Linked DNA regions of Homo sapiens: region 2 is linked to region 1. The links are contacts of gene promoters, found by promoter capture Hi-C in human tissues and cell types (Jung and others, 2019). All regions are on one chromosome and are shown on one strand. Each heading gives the region's core, a stretch centred on a gene start or on the middle of the fragment in contact. The rest is flanking DNA. Distances are from core to core; before and after follow the strand shown.

Region 1 (6,265 bases), core at 2,264-4,763:
GAGTTCAAGACCAGCCTGACCAACATGGAGAAACCCCATCTCTACTAAAGATACAAAATTAGCAGGGTATGGTGGTGCATGCCTGTAATCCCAGTTATTCGGGAGGCTGAGGCAGGAGAATCACTTGAACCCAGGAGATGGAGGTTGTGGTGAGCCGAGATCGTGCCACTGCACTACAGCCTGGGCAACAAGAGTAAAACTCTGTCTCAAAAAAAAAAAAAAAAAAAAATACAGGCCAGGCACGGTAGCTCACGCCTATAATCCCAGCACTTTGGGAGGCTGAGGCGGGCAGATCACAAGGTCAGGAGTTCAAGACCAGCCTGGCCAAGATGGTGAAACCCCCATCTCTACTAAAAAGACAAAAAAATTAGCTGGTGTGGTGGTGGATGCCTGTAATCCTAGCTACTCAGGAGGCTGAGGCAGAGAACTGCTTGAACCTGGAAGGTGGAGGTTGCAGCCAAGAGGGTGCCACTGCACTCCAGCCTGGGCGACAGAGAGAGACTCTATCTCAAAATAAATTAAAAAAATACAAAAATTAGCTGGACGTGGTGGTGCATGCCTGTAATCCCAGCTACTGGGGAGGCTGAGGCAGGAGAAGTGCTTAAGCCCAGGAGGCAGAGGTTGCAATGAGTTGAGATCATGCCACTGTAATCCAGCATGAGTGACAGAGCAAAACTGTCTCAAAAAAAAATTAAAATAATAATAAAAAAAGGGAAGGGAAGGGCGCCCACGGGGCTCTCAGCTACACAGGGCCAGATTTATGTTCCTCAATCCCAGTTATCCAAACTTCTCAGGTAGCTTAGCTAGAGCAATACAACCCAACCTGAAGACTCTGCTGATTTCCCTCCCTAGCTCAAAGGAAACAGAAACAGAAACATACCTTGGGGAGGTGTTTGCTGATAGCCTGGTACTGGGCCATTGTAGGCTCCATAGGGAATGGCGGGGGCTGTGGACCCTGATTGCCCACCATAGCTGGACTGATGATACCCTGGGTAGATGGGCTGGGGCTGCCCAAATGGTGGCACAGGTGGAACTGACTGGTTGACGTTCATTATGAAAGCATTCCCAATTTGATCTCACCTGTGAGAGAGAGGAGAAATTAGTCAAAATGAACTTTCTAAAGAGAGCAACTATTCAGGGCAGGAAGTAGAGATAAAAAGAAATTGACCTTATCAGACAGTGATCAGTTTAATAATCCTCACACTTCCACAGGATCTTAGTAATTTTCTGCCCCAGCCAGCATTCAGATTATCTCCTAAAAGCAAGGATTTTGTTATTCTGACCATCCACCCTTTGTCACTGTCTAAATAGTATAAATTTCAACTTCAGACAGATCCACTGAAATGGAGCAGCAGCCTCCATTCCCCAGTGGTATGATTTCTAGTGTCTAGTCACACAGTCTTGTGGCTGATGAACTACCTTGATGTTACAGGTGAAAGAAACAATGTTCCCACTTTCCATTCATTCACTCTAGCATCCATTCATTCAGCAAACATCGAGTACCCTCTAGTGTGCTGAACAATTGATTTAAAATCAATCAGGCTAAAAATCTAAAACAGATCTGCTAAAATCCTTCCCCCTCAATGACAAAATTTAGGCTGAGTTACAGAAATGACATTCTTTAGCTAAACTGCCATAATACAAATGATACTCCAACCCAAGTCTTTCCACCAAAAGAGTGTATGGACCTTAAAACTGAAGGTTTTTTTTTTTTTTTTTTTTTTTTGAGACGGAGTCTCACTCTGTTGCCAGGCTGGAGTGCAGTGGCGCGATCTCGGCTCACTGCAACCTTCACCTCCTGGGTTCAAACGATTCTCCTGCCTCAGCCTCCCGAGTAGCTGGGATTACAGGCGCGTGCCACCACACCCAGCTAGTTTTTGTATTTTTAGTAGAGACAGGTTTTCACCCTGTTAGCCAGGCTGGTCTCGATCTCCTGACCTCGTGATCCACCCACCTTGGCCTCCCAAAGTGCTGGGATCACAGGTGTGAGCCACCACGCCCGGCCAAAACCGAAGCATTAAAATCAATAAAAGTTGGCCAGGCACAGTGGCTCATGCCTGTAATCCCAGCACTTTGGAAGGCCAAGTCGGGCAGATCACTTGAGGTCAGGAGTTCATGACCAGCCTGGCCAACACGGTGAAACCCAGTCTCTACTAAAAATACAAAAACTAGCCGGGCATGGTGGCACACGCCTGTAATCCCAGCTACTTGGGAGGCTGAGGCAGGAGAAATCGCTTGAACCCGGGAGGCGGAGATTGCAATAAGCCGAGATCGTGCCACTGCACTCCAGCCTGAGCAATAGAGCAAGACGCCCTTTCAAAAAAATAAAAAATAAAGGACACCTGAAAACTCTAGCAAGGTAACAGATTAAAACCAAGTGCAGAACAGGCACCAAAACTTCTTCACATAATCTGAGGAAACAGTTCAAGAATCAGGGGCAAAGTTAGAGTTAGATTTCATGGAAAAAAATCATTCACCTCATCCCTCAAGCAGAAGACTATGAATATTCTAAATTCCAATGCACTTCTCCAACTCTCCTGTTTCTGCTCCCCTTACGATTGTTATGAATCTCAGCCACCATCAAAATTATTACAATCTTGCTCATCAACACAGGGATGAATTAGAGGGCCTTTTCTAAACAGGGTCCTTCCAAGAAAACTATCTCATCACATCTACTTTCAACAGCTGTATCATTCCAATTATCCTGTAGACAGAAGGGGCCCAGAAAGCAGGAGCACTCAGAGTTGCTGCAAAGGGAACAATGGACCTCTCCCCCTTTGCTAGAAGGGCCACCTTGACTATAGAAAAGGAGCTGATCCTGGTCTAAAACTCTTTAAACTCAAAGTTATCTCAATAGCTGTTCTTCCAAACCCTAAACCTTACAGAGGTAGGTCACTGACACTAAGTTTAAAATATGTCCTCTCCCTTTATGTTTCCAAAGCCGGGGGGAGGGGTAAAGAAAGGAGCTTCTTCTCCAGAAAATAATCCCCTCAAACACATTCAAGAGCTTGGAGTCAGACTGAAGTCTCGACTCCATTCTGGGTGGATAGTCGAGGGTGACAACCCAAGGGGGCGGGGCAAGCTTCCTAGAACTCTGAAAGTAGTCAAGCCATGGAGCCTCGGAGAGCCGAGGATCAAAACCGAGAAGCCAAGTCGGCTTCTAGGGCCACGTTAAGAGAGGGGGCTGCTCTGTTAAGCACAGAGACCAAACGTCTTGCACCTTTTAACAGGCTCGGGGCAGGAAGCAGGAGCCGGAATCTGGGCCGGGAGACGAAGGGATGGTCTAGGACCTGCTCCTGGATGGTGGATGCGTGAGGTGAGGGTCTCTACCCAGGCCCCGCCCCCAGGCTCCTCCCTTCTTTCTGAAACCGGACCCCAATCTGGCCAGTAATACCCTGACCTCTCCTTTGCTTTCCTACCCGCCAACCTCCCGATGCCACTCCTCACCCGGCTCCAGATCCAGGTTAGACTTCGTTCCTAACGTCAAGGCTCCCAGGCTCCACTTCCGGTTCCGAGGGGGCCGTCCCGTCACCCCCGGAAGTTCCTCCTCCACGCTTTAGGGCCGGGCCACTTCTTCTGCCACGTCTGCATTTCGGGGACCCGGATGCCGCGCATGCGCCTCTTTCATCTTCCCATCATGGCCGCCGCCTGTGCGCCTCTGCTGAGTCGTATGTATTTCCCTCCTGACATTTTTTTTCAGATGTTCCAGTCACTTTATGGCCTCACCAACAGAAATGAGATTAAAAAGAATTTGTCAAACTATCTTTAATAATGCCCCTTCACTCTGCCTGTGACGTATTAGTGACCTCTGAGCTAGAGTCTTGTAGTCACTTCCTGGTGACCCCTGACCCCGTTGATTTCCGTCCGCTAGGTTGCTCTCACCCATGGCGTTTGCTGGTTATGAGATTTGCGGAACGTGTGGTGGTGGTAAAGGGCACCAACTGTTGTCAACCTGCATGTGGGGGTCTGAGGTCTGGCTCTACAGCTTGTAAAATGGAAATAATAATGCCCAGAGGATGAAATTAGGCCACATAGGCCGCTTGGCATCATAGTAAGCACTCAGTAAAGGTCAATTGTTATTAACCATTTTTATACAGCGCCTTTGTTTAGGTGCAGAGCTTTATCAGAGCCAAAAGATCTCTGCGCTCTGTTGGAAAAGATAGTTCCTGCAGTAATTATTAGTACCCCATTTAATGGCTAAGTAATTATAGCTAACAGTGCTAGGATTTCTTTTTCATATATGACTTCATTTGAACTTTTCAGTACTATTTGTTGATTTCATAATTTTTCGAGCACTGCTGTTGAAACTGCCTTTGCAAAATTACAACTGAGGAAATTATGATAGTGGAAGAAATCAGACTTAACCGACTCCATCTTGCTTCTAACCTTTAAGCTGTCCTTATTCATTCCTGGGTGTAGGTGGAACTAACTTTGGGGAGGAATTCAGTTTATGGTTTGAAACAAAATTGATAATAGCCCCTTCCCGAAAAGACCCCCTTCTTGCCTGGGGACCAGTCTGTCTTTACAGGACTAACAAATTAGCTACAAGATTACAAATTACAGTTTAGGGGACATGCAGCCTCTCGCTCCAAGAGTCTGAACCTCCCCAAATTGCTTTTAGGAATAACATAACTATTGTAAAACCTAAGATTAGTGCTTGAGATGTTTTGCAGACCCTGCACTCATTGGATCAGCTGACTACCTAGACCAGTAACCTGGCTCAATCAGTTCTGCCATTCCACCCAGGAACAGAAAACAGCAAGAAAACCTCACTTTGACTCCCTGTGATTCCGTCTTCAACCTGACCAATCAGCACTCCCCGCTTCCCAAGCTCCTACTCGCCAAATTATCTTTAAGAACTCTGATCCTCAAATGCTCAGGGAGACTAATTTGTGTAATAATAAAACTCTGGTCTCCCACACAGCTGGCTCTGCGTGAATTACTCTTTCTCCATTGCAATTCCCTGGTCTTGATAAATCAGCTTTGTCAAGGCAGCAGGCAGGGTGAACCCACTGAGCGCTGACATTGTGTGCCAAGCCATGTTCTTGGGTCTGGAAATAGAGCAGTGAACAAAAGTGTTTGTTCTCATATTATTGACAGTAAATATCAGTTATTCTGAGGCACAGAGTGGTTTATTCACTGAAAAATTTGCACTTTAGGCTGTGCTGGAAACTATATATTAGGCATTGAGCATGCTTTACTAAACAAGCAGATTGTTCTTGTCCTCTGTTTTGTTTTGTGACAGTCTTGCTCTGTCTCCAGGCCGGAGTGCAGTGGCCCAATCTTGGCTCACTGCAACTTCCGCCTCCTGGTTTCAAGCGATTCTTATGCCTCAGACTCCCGAGTAGCTGGGATTACAGGCATGCGCCACCACCCCAGCTAATCTTTGTATGTTTGGTATAGACAGGGTTTCACTATATTGGCCAGGATGGTCTTGATCTCCTGACGTTGTGATCCGCCCCCCTTGGCCTCCCAAAGTGCTGGGATTACAGGTGTGAGCCACTGCGCCCAGCCTGTTTTGTTTTAGAGACGATTTTGCTATGTTGCTCAGGCTGGGCTCAAGTGGTCCTCCTACCTCAGTAGGAGTAGCTGGGTAGTTGAGTAGCTAGGGCTACAGGTATGTGCCCCCACATCTGGCTAATTTTTTGTAGAGGTGAGGTCTCCCTGTGTTGCCCAGGGTGGTCTCAAATTCCTCCCACCTTAGCCTTCCAAATTGCTGAGATTACAGGTGTGAAGCCACCACACCTGACCTATCAGTTTATAGTCAGTGGTTAAGTGTGATCCTCAGATCAGCAGTATCAGTAACACCTGGAAACTTGCTTGAAATGCAAATTTCAGACCCGCTTTACATAGATAAGAGCCAGAAATTCTGGAGGTGGGGCCCAGCAAGCTATGGTTTAAGGCCCTCCAGGTGATTCCATTGCTGATTGAGAACCACTAGTCTAGATGAATAATTTGCCAAATTCAACTAAGATATGTTGAGCACCTGACCTAAACTGGTCCTCTGCTAAGCATTTTCACATGATTCATCCCACTTGACTCATATCGATATAGGAAAGTAAATATCCTCTGTCTTGCTTAAGGTTGCACCCACTAGGGCCGGGCATGGTGGCTCATGCCTGTAATCCTAGCACTTTGGGAGGCCGAGACAGGCGGATCACCTGAAGTCAGGAGTTTGAGAGCAGCCTGGCCAACCCTGTCTCTGCTAAAAATACAAAAATTAGCTGGATGTCGTGGCACATGCCTGTAATCCCAACTACTCAGG
Region 2 (6,265 bases), core at 1,290-3,789, 310 kb after region 1:
AACAAACAAAATATATGTAAATATATTAGGCAAGCGCACACACACACACACACACACACACACACACACACACACACACACATGCTTGCCTAATTCCAGGTAACAAACAGAACTTCTCAAATTGTTTCTTTTTTCTTTTTCTTTTGCTTTTTTTTTTTTTTTTTTGAGACGGAATCTCTGTCTGTCACCCAGGCTGGAATGCAGTGGCATGCTCTTGGCTCACTGCAACCTCCGCCTCCTGGGTTCAAGCAATTCTCCTGCCTCGGCCTCCCAAGTACCTGGGACTACAGGTGCCCACCACCACGCCTGGCTAATTTTTGTATTTTTAGTAGAGATGGGGTTTCACCATGTTGGCCAGGCTGGTCTCAAACTCCTGACCTCGTGATCCGCCCACCTCAGCCTCCCAAAGTGCTGGGATTTCAGGCGTCAGCCACTGCACCCGGCCACAAATTGTTAATTATTATAACTCTCTGCTTGCCAAAATATTAACTTACAAAGCAGTCCATGAGTTGGCTCTAAAGTTATTATGCATTGCATACCTTAAAGATTGTTGTCTATGTTGTTTATGAAAGTTGCATACCTTAAAGATTGTTGTCGATGTTGTTTTATGAAAGCTATTCAGTAAAGAGTTTATCTGGCTAAAATAGACCCAATAGAAAAATTAAAAAGTAAGTAAGAGTTTAACTAGTATATTAGGTGCCAGGAACTTTCCTAGCCCTTAGGTACATAACTAGCATTATATAGTGTTTGTGGGAATCATGGGTGAGCATTAAGTAGTATTAGCAAAAAAACTATGGATTGATGGTAAAAATTAAGAGGAAAATAAGAGAAAGGAACCAAACTCAGGAAAAGCAAAATACCTGAAGAGTGATAAAGTATCACATAGTGCCTCACAGACCACTTCCTACATGTTGAATAGGAACCTCTTTCTAGTCTTTCTTCATAATTCATTTCACAGCATACCATTTATTAAGATTTTTTAAATGCAACTCATGATGAATACAAATTGTGAAAAGTTCAGACTTCGTAACTTTAAATGTTTACCAGAGCAAGTCATAGTGATAGTAAAATATAAGTATTCAACATCAAAGTTTTTCTATATTACTATTCTCCTTTATATTCATTGACAACTTCTGAATTAGAAAAGTCAATCTCTGATGTCTTGTATCTTCTGCAGTTCAGCCATTATTAACAGAACTCAAAACATTTGAGGTTCTCAGATAAATTTTGAAGCCTGTTAAATTTGAAGTTGGCCTGAAACTTTTGCACAAAGTGAATTACCCCTATTTTATTTAGGGTTTTTGCCTATTGCAACTGATTTTCCTTTATCCACAGCTATTCTACATAATGTTATGCAGTGTTTGGTTGAATCCTTAACACTTTTCTTCCACCTTCCCTGCATGTAGTTTGTACTTTTTACAGTTTGGGGTTCCTGTGTGGATTTGATTTGCCACATTCCGGGACCTCATTGCGAGTGATTCTGTTCCCCAGTTTGATGATGTTCAAAGAAGCAGGTAAGTGAGAGCTGGGGTCAGATATAAGCAGAAAGTCAGAACTTTTTTATTTAAAAATTTTAAAAAAATTTTTTGAGGGTAAGAAAGATCTTGCAGTCTTTTAGGACCACTGCCCTAACAACTTCAGATAGGCTAGCTGTAAGTAGAAAGAAGCTAGGACTGTGGAATTGAATTTCCTGGATCAGCTGCAATTACAAGGAGGATAAGAGAATGGTTGAGCTGATTCTTTTCTATTTTCTTTTCCTAGAAATAGTATGTATTTTTAGTCATTAACTAGTATTTTGGTTTTGTTTAATATCCCAGAAGCATTTATTCCTCTCTTAATACAGGTAAAGTGCTCCTGATGACTCTCTCACTCAGAGAGTTATCTTACCCTTCTTTCAGGGAAAGTGAATTTTACAAGTTAATTCTGCATGTTTCCCCTACAACTGATTTCATTCTGTACCATTAAATGGCCATTTATTTTCTCCCTTCTACTTAATCCAAGATTGGACATTGTTGAGTTTTGTTTGAACAATGTTTGTTATGCTGAAAAAGGACACCAGGCCTGGGGGAACTCATCCTGTGTCTAGATCAACAAACAGAACTCCAGAGGGTCCTCTGGTTCCTCCCACTTGGTTGGAAAGGTGCTTACCCTTTCCAATCAAATATTGACTTCTGCACTAATCCAAAGGGTTTTCTTCTGAAGCTGTAAACTGAGAACAGAAATATTGCCTTGAGTGAGAGAAGTCTAGGAAGCAGCAGGTTTCATTTTTTGTCAGCCTGCCTGGCCTTTACTTGGCTAACACTTGGGAGTGTTGACAGTCCTGAGCCCCCTTGGCAGAGAACAAAGGTTAGAGAGAAGCCCTCAGGCAGGGGGACAGATCCCTCTTTGCCTCATTAGGGAGAATTCAGCCTTGTCTGTCTGGTTGGCAGGGCACACTTAATCACTGAGACTCAGCATTTCAGCAGTTTGCAAAGGAAAGTGATATGAAGGGACAGCTGCAAGTAAGCCACAACCTAGATCTGAAGAGATCAAGCACTCATTTCACTTGGAGGAAAGAGAGAAGGAAGGAAGCTGAGGACTTAGCAGGGTAAGTTTTTTTTTCCGTCAACCTGTCTGCTTGCTTAGTTTATAATTGAGTAAAGTATTTATCACCCCAGGCAGTGTTAATCACTGATTAAACAGCTGAATGTGGCCATAATTACAGTGTCCTTAATGTATTTCTCCTTCTCTTTTCCTACCCCCTTATAAGGATCTCCAATGACCAGTTTCAGTCTTCCTTCTCCCTACCTCTCCAAAGACGTTTTGCATTTTTTGGTGACTTACAGAAAATTAGATGAGCACTCCTTATCTGGAGATAGTGAAAATATGACTGTAGTTTAGGTGAAACTTGGGACTCTTGGTGGTAAAGAAGAAGATGGGAAACCTAGGTCTAGGAATAGATTAATATTTTGTCTTGAATTTGGACATGAAGGATAAAAGTTTTTCTAGGCAATCAAGATCATGTCTCCTCTCCAGTTCTTGGTGTTGGTGTTCTCTCTCTTATACTGGGACTAAATTAGAGCCTAAGTCACTGGGGATGGCTAGAAAAAAATGAAAGGGATTCCCTTTCTAAGTGGAGAGCATTCTAGACTCTGGAAAGTTCAAAGAGCTTACTGCAATTCTTTCCAGCTTCTCCTGTGAGTCCCCTGTTTTTTCCTTTGTTTCTCTCAGTTTATAACCTGTGAACAGGGAGTAGCCTGGGGCTCTTTACAGGAGATTTAGAACCAGGGAAGCTGTGTCTGGGCCTGGGGTATATAAACTCAAACATGAACCTGATGATGTATATAGATGCAGATCAAAGACCTGGCTTCTCACCCACCTTCTTTCTTTTCTGCCAGAAAGCTAACTCATTTGTATCATGAACATTGTGCTCTAGACACAGAGGAGACTGTGACATTAGGGATTTTTACCACCACTCCTCTTCCTCAAACTGTGTGATCCTTTTGCTTTCTGACCAGTTCAGCCAACTCCCAGATTGCCAAGAGCTAATCTTCCTTTAGAGGAAGACCTCACCTTGGAAATGCGGAAAAGTAAAGCAGTACCTTTCTGACCTTAAGTGGCTTGCTTCCATTGCAGCAAAAAGGCTTATGTTTTAACTTCAGGGAGATATCTATTATAAATTCTGGGATTTAAGACCCTAGAGTTGTCTCAAATCACACTTTCCTTCCATACCTATTTAAAAAAAAAAAAGTCATTCTTTCAAGGTTTAAGAAAGTGGTGTCTTGGCCGGGCGCCGTGGCTCATGCCTGTAATCCCAGCACTTTGGGAGGTCGAGGTGGGTGGATCACGAGGTCAGGAGTTCGAGACCAGCCTGACCAACATGGTGAAACCCCATCTCTACTAAAAATACAAAAATTAGCTGGGCATGGTGGCGCGAGCCTGTAATCCCAGCTACTCAGGAGGCTGAGGCAGGAGAATCACTTGAACCCGGGAGGTGGAGGTTGCAGTGAGCCAAGATCGCACCACTGCACTCCAGCCTGGGTGACAGAGTGAGACTCTGTCTCAAAGAAAGAAAGAAAAAGAAAATGTTATCTTGCCTGAGGCAGGTGGGTAGAGTAGATAAATGCTTTTTGTAGAATGGCAGTGATTCTGAAAATGCAATGAGAATGTGAGGTGATTAAAAGTGGAGGACAGAATGAGGTTAGTTGTTGGAAATTGGGCCCTAAAGTGTGAAGGGCAATTCCATTTACTCTTTTGGTAAAAGGACATGACCCTTAAACCCTAAGATAATCTAATATCATTAGGTCCAATTTCTTCATTGAAGGTAATATATAGGATATGGTATACAGATGAGCTTGACTATTTCTGTTCTGTGGACTGAAACCATCCATTCACCCATGGGATAAGGGGAGACATTAAGAGGGTGGATGGAAACATAAGGATGAGGAGATAGAAAGTACAAAGGAAAATACAAATTTGTTCCTCCATTAACCTGAGGACAGGTTTTTAAGAGTCATGTTGTAAGATATGGATATGAGCTGGATAATTCTGGGAGCTTTTTGTTTATTTTTGCCACCTGCATACACCTCAGCTGCATGATGATTCTGAGGTTTTTCCTAACAGATCTGATCTAGAAGGATCAAATGTCAGATCATTTTTGTAACAAAACATGATCCCTGGTTTGAACTTTAACAGTTTCCTCATTCACACTGCCAGCGTTTTTAATCCTCTGTTATTTCTCTGTACCTGAAGACAATCTGGGGATTAATAACTTTTTAGCCTCTCAATCTCTATGAATACCTTCCTTCCTTTCTTTTTTAATCGAAGTGAAAATCATATAACATAAAATTAATAATTTTAAAGTGAGCAATTAAATGGCATTTAGTGTATTCACGGTATTGTTCAACCATCAATTTTGTCTTGTTCCAAAACATTTTTATCACCCCAAAAGAAGACCCCATAACCATTAAGCAGTTACTCCCCATTTTCCCTTCCACCCAGCCCTTAGCAACTACCAATCTGCTTTCTGTCTCTGGGTTTACCTATTCTGGATATTTCATAGAAATGGCATCATACAACATGTATACAACATTTTGTGTCTGGCTTTCTTCACTTAGTATAATGTTTTTTGAAGTTCCTCTACATTGTAGCGTGTATCAGTATTTCATTTCTTTTTATAGCTGAATAATATACATCTTCATATGTATATTTATATCCCAATTTGTTTATCCATTTATCCATTGATGGACCTTTGGGTTGTTTCTACCTTTTAGCTGTTGCGAATAGTGCTGCTATGAACATTCACATATAAGTATTTGTTTGAGTATCTGTTTTTAAATATTTTGGGCACATACCTAAGAATGAAATTTCTGGTTATATAGTAATATTATGTTAACTTTTTGGGGAACTGCCGTACTGTTTTCTATGGTGGTGGCACCATTTTACATTCTCACCTGCAGTGTACGAGGGTTCAAATTACTCCATATCCTCATCAACACTTGTCATTTTCTGTTTTTTTTTTTTATAATAGCCATACTAGTGGGTATGAAGTAATATCTCACTGTGGTTCTGATTTGCATTTTCCTAATGACTATTGAGCATATTTTCTTGTGTTTATTGTCCATTTGCATATATTCTTTGGGAAAATGCCTATTCACATGTTATGCCCAATTTTTTAGTTGGGTTGTTTGGTGGTTTTTTTGTTTGTTATTGAGTTGTGGGAATTCTTTATATATTTTGAATACTAACCCCTTATCAGATATATGGTGTGCAAATATTTTCTTCCATTCTTGGGGTGTCATTTGACTCTGTTGTTAGTTTAGCATCCTTTGATGCACAAAAGTTTTTAATTTTGCTGTCCAATTTATCTATTTTGGTGGTGGTGGTGTTGCCTGTGCTTTTGGTGTCATATCCTAGAAATTATTGCCAAACCTATGTCATGAACCTTTCCCCATAGACTTTTATAGTTTTACTTCTTAAGTTTAGGTCTTTATACTTTAAACATTCAAACTCGAGTCATTCTATTTCATTAATTTGCAGAATGTTTCTGTCTATATTTCTGTGTTTATTCTCTCCTCTGTGCTTAGAATTTATTTTTTCCCTATTTCCAAGTATTCAAAGTATTCCCATCTTTCAAGGTCTATTCCAACTGCCACCTGCTTCATGAAGAAAGCCACTGAAGAGATTCTCGCCCACTGAAGAGATTTTCTTCTTCTGATCTCCCATTAGTGCTTTAGTTGCACTTTTCTGGTTGGATTTATATAGTACCTTATAGTCTACATCTAAT

The links. The method cuts DNA at HindIII sites, captures the fragments that hold promoters and counts their contacts. A contact is called where the count stands out against the background at its distance.
Region 2: the fragment with the promoter of MSS51 here is called in contact with the fragment with the promoter of SEC24C in region 1 in 1 of the 25 tissues and cell types used here (thymus).

What each region holds. Positions count from the first base shown.
Region 1 is chr10:73,741,620-73,747,884 of GRCh38, reverse strand. SEC24C (SEC24 homolog C, COPII component) reads right to left here and starts at 3,513. Exons shown (of 23, transcript NM_198597.3): 1 at 3,448-3,513; 2 at 881-1,080. The coding sequence starts at 1,052. It overlaps LOC124902453 (a long non-coding RNA gene), which reads left to right and starts at 3,620. Exons shown (of 2, transcript XR_007062195.1): 1 at 3,620-3,668; 2 at 4,674-4,921. RefSeq lists enhancers at 2,998-3,564, 3,465-3,894, 3,565-4,132, 2,972-4,171, 5,837-6,265. The HindIII fragment of the contact is 12,749 bases long and covers 391-6,265 here.
Region 2 is chr10:73,429,835-73,436,099 of GRCh38, reverse strand. MSS51 (MSS51 mitochondrial translational activator) reads left to right here and starts at 2,539. Exons shown (of 7, transcript NM_001024593.2): 1 at 2,539-2,587. The HindIII fragment of the contact is 24,221 bases long and covers 1-6,265 here.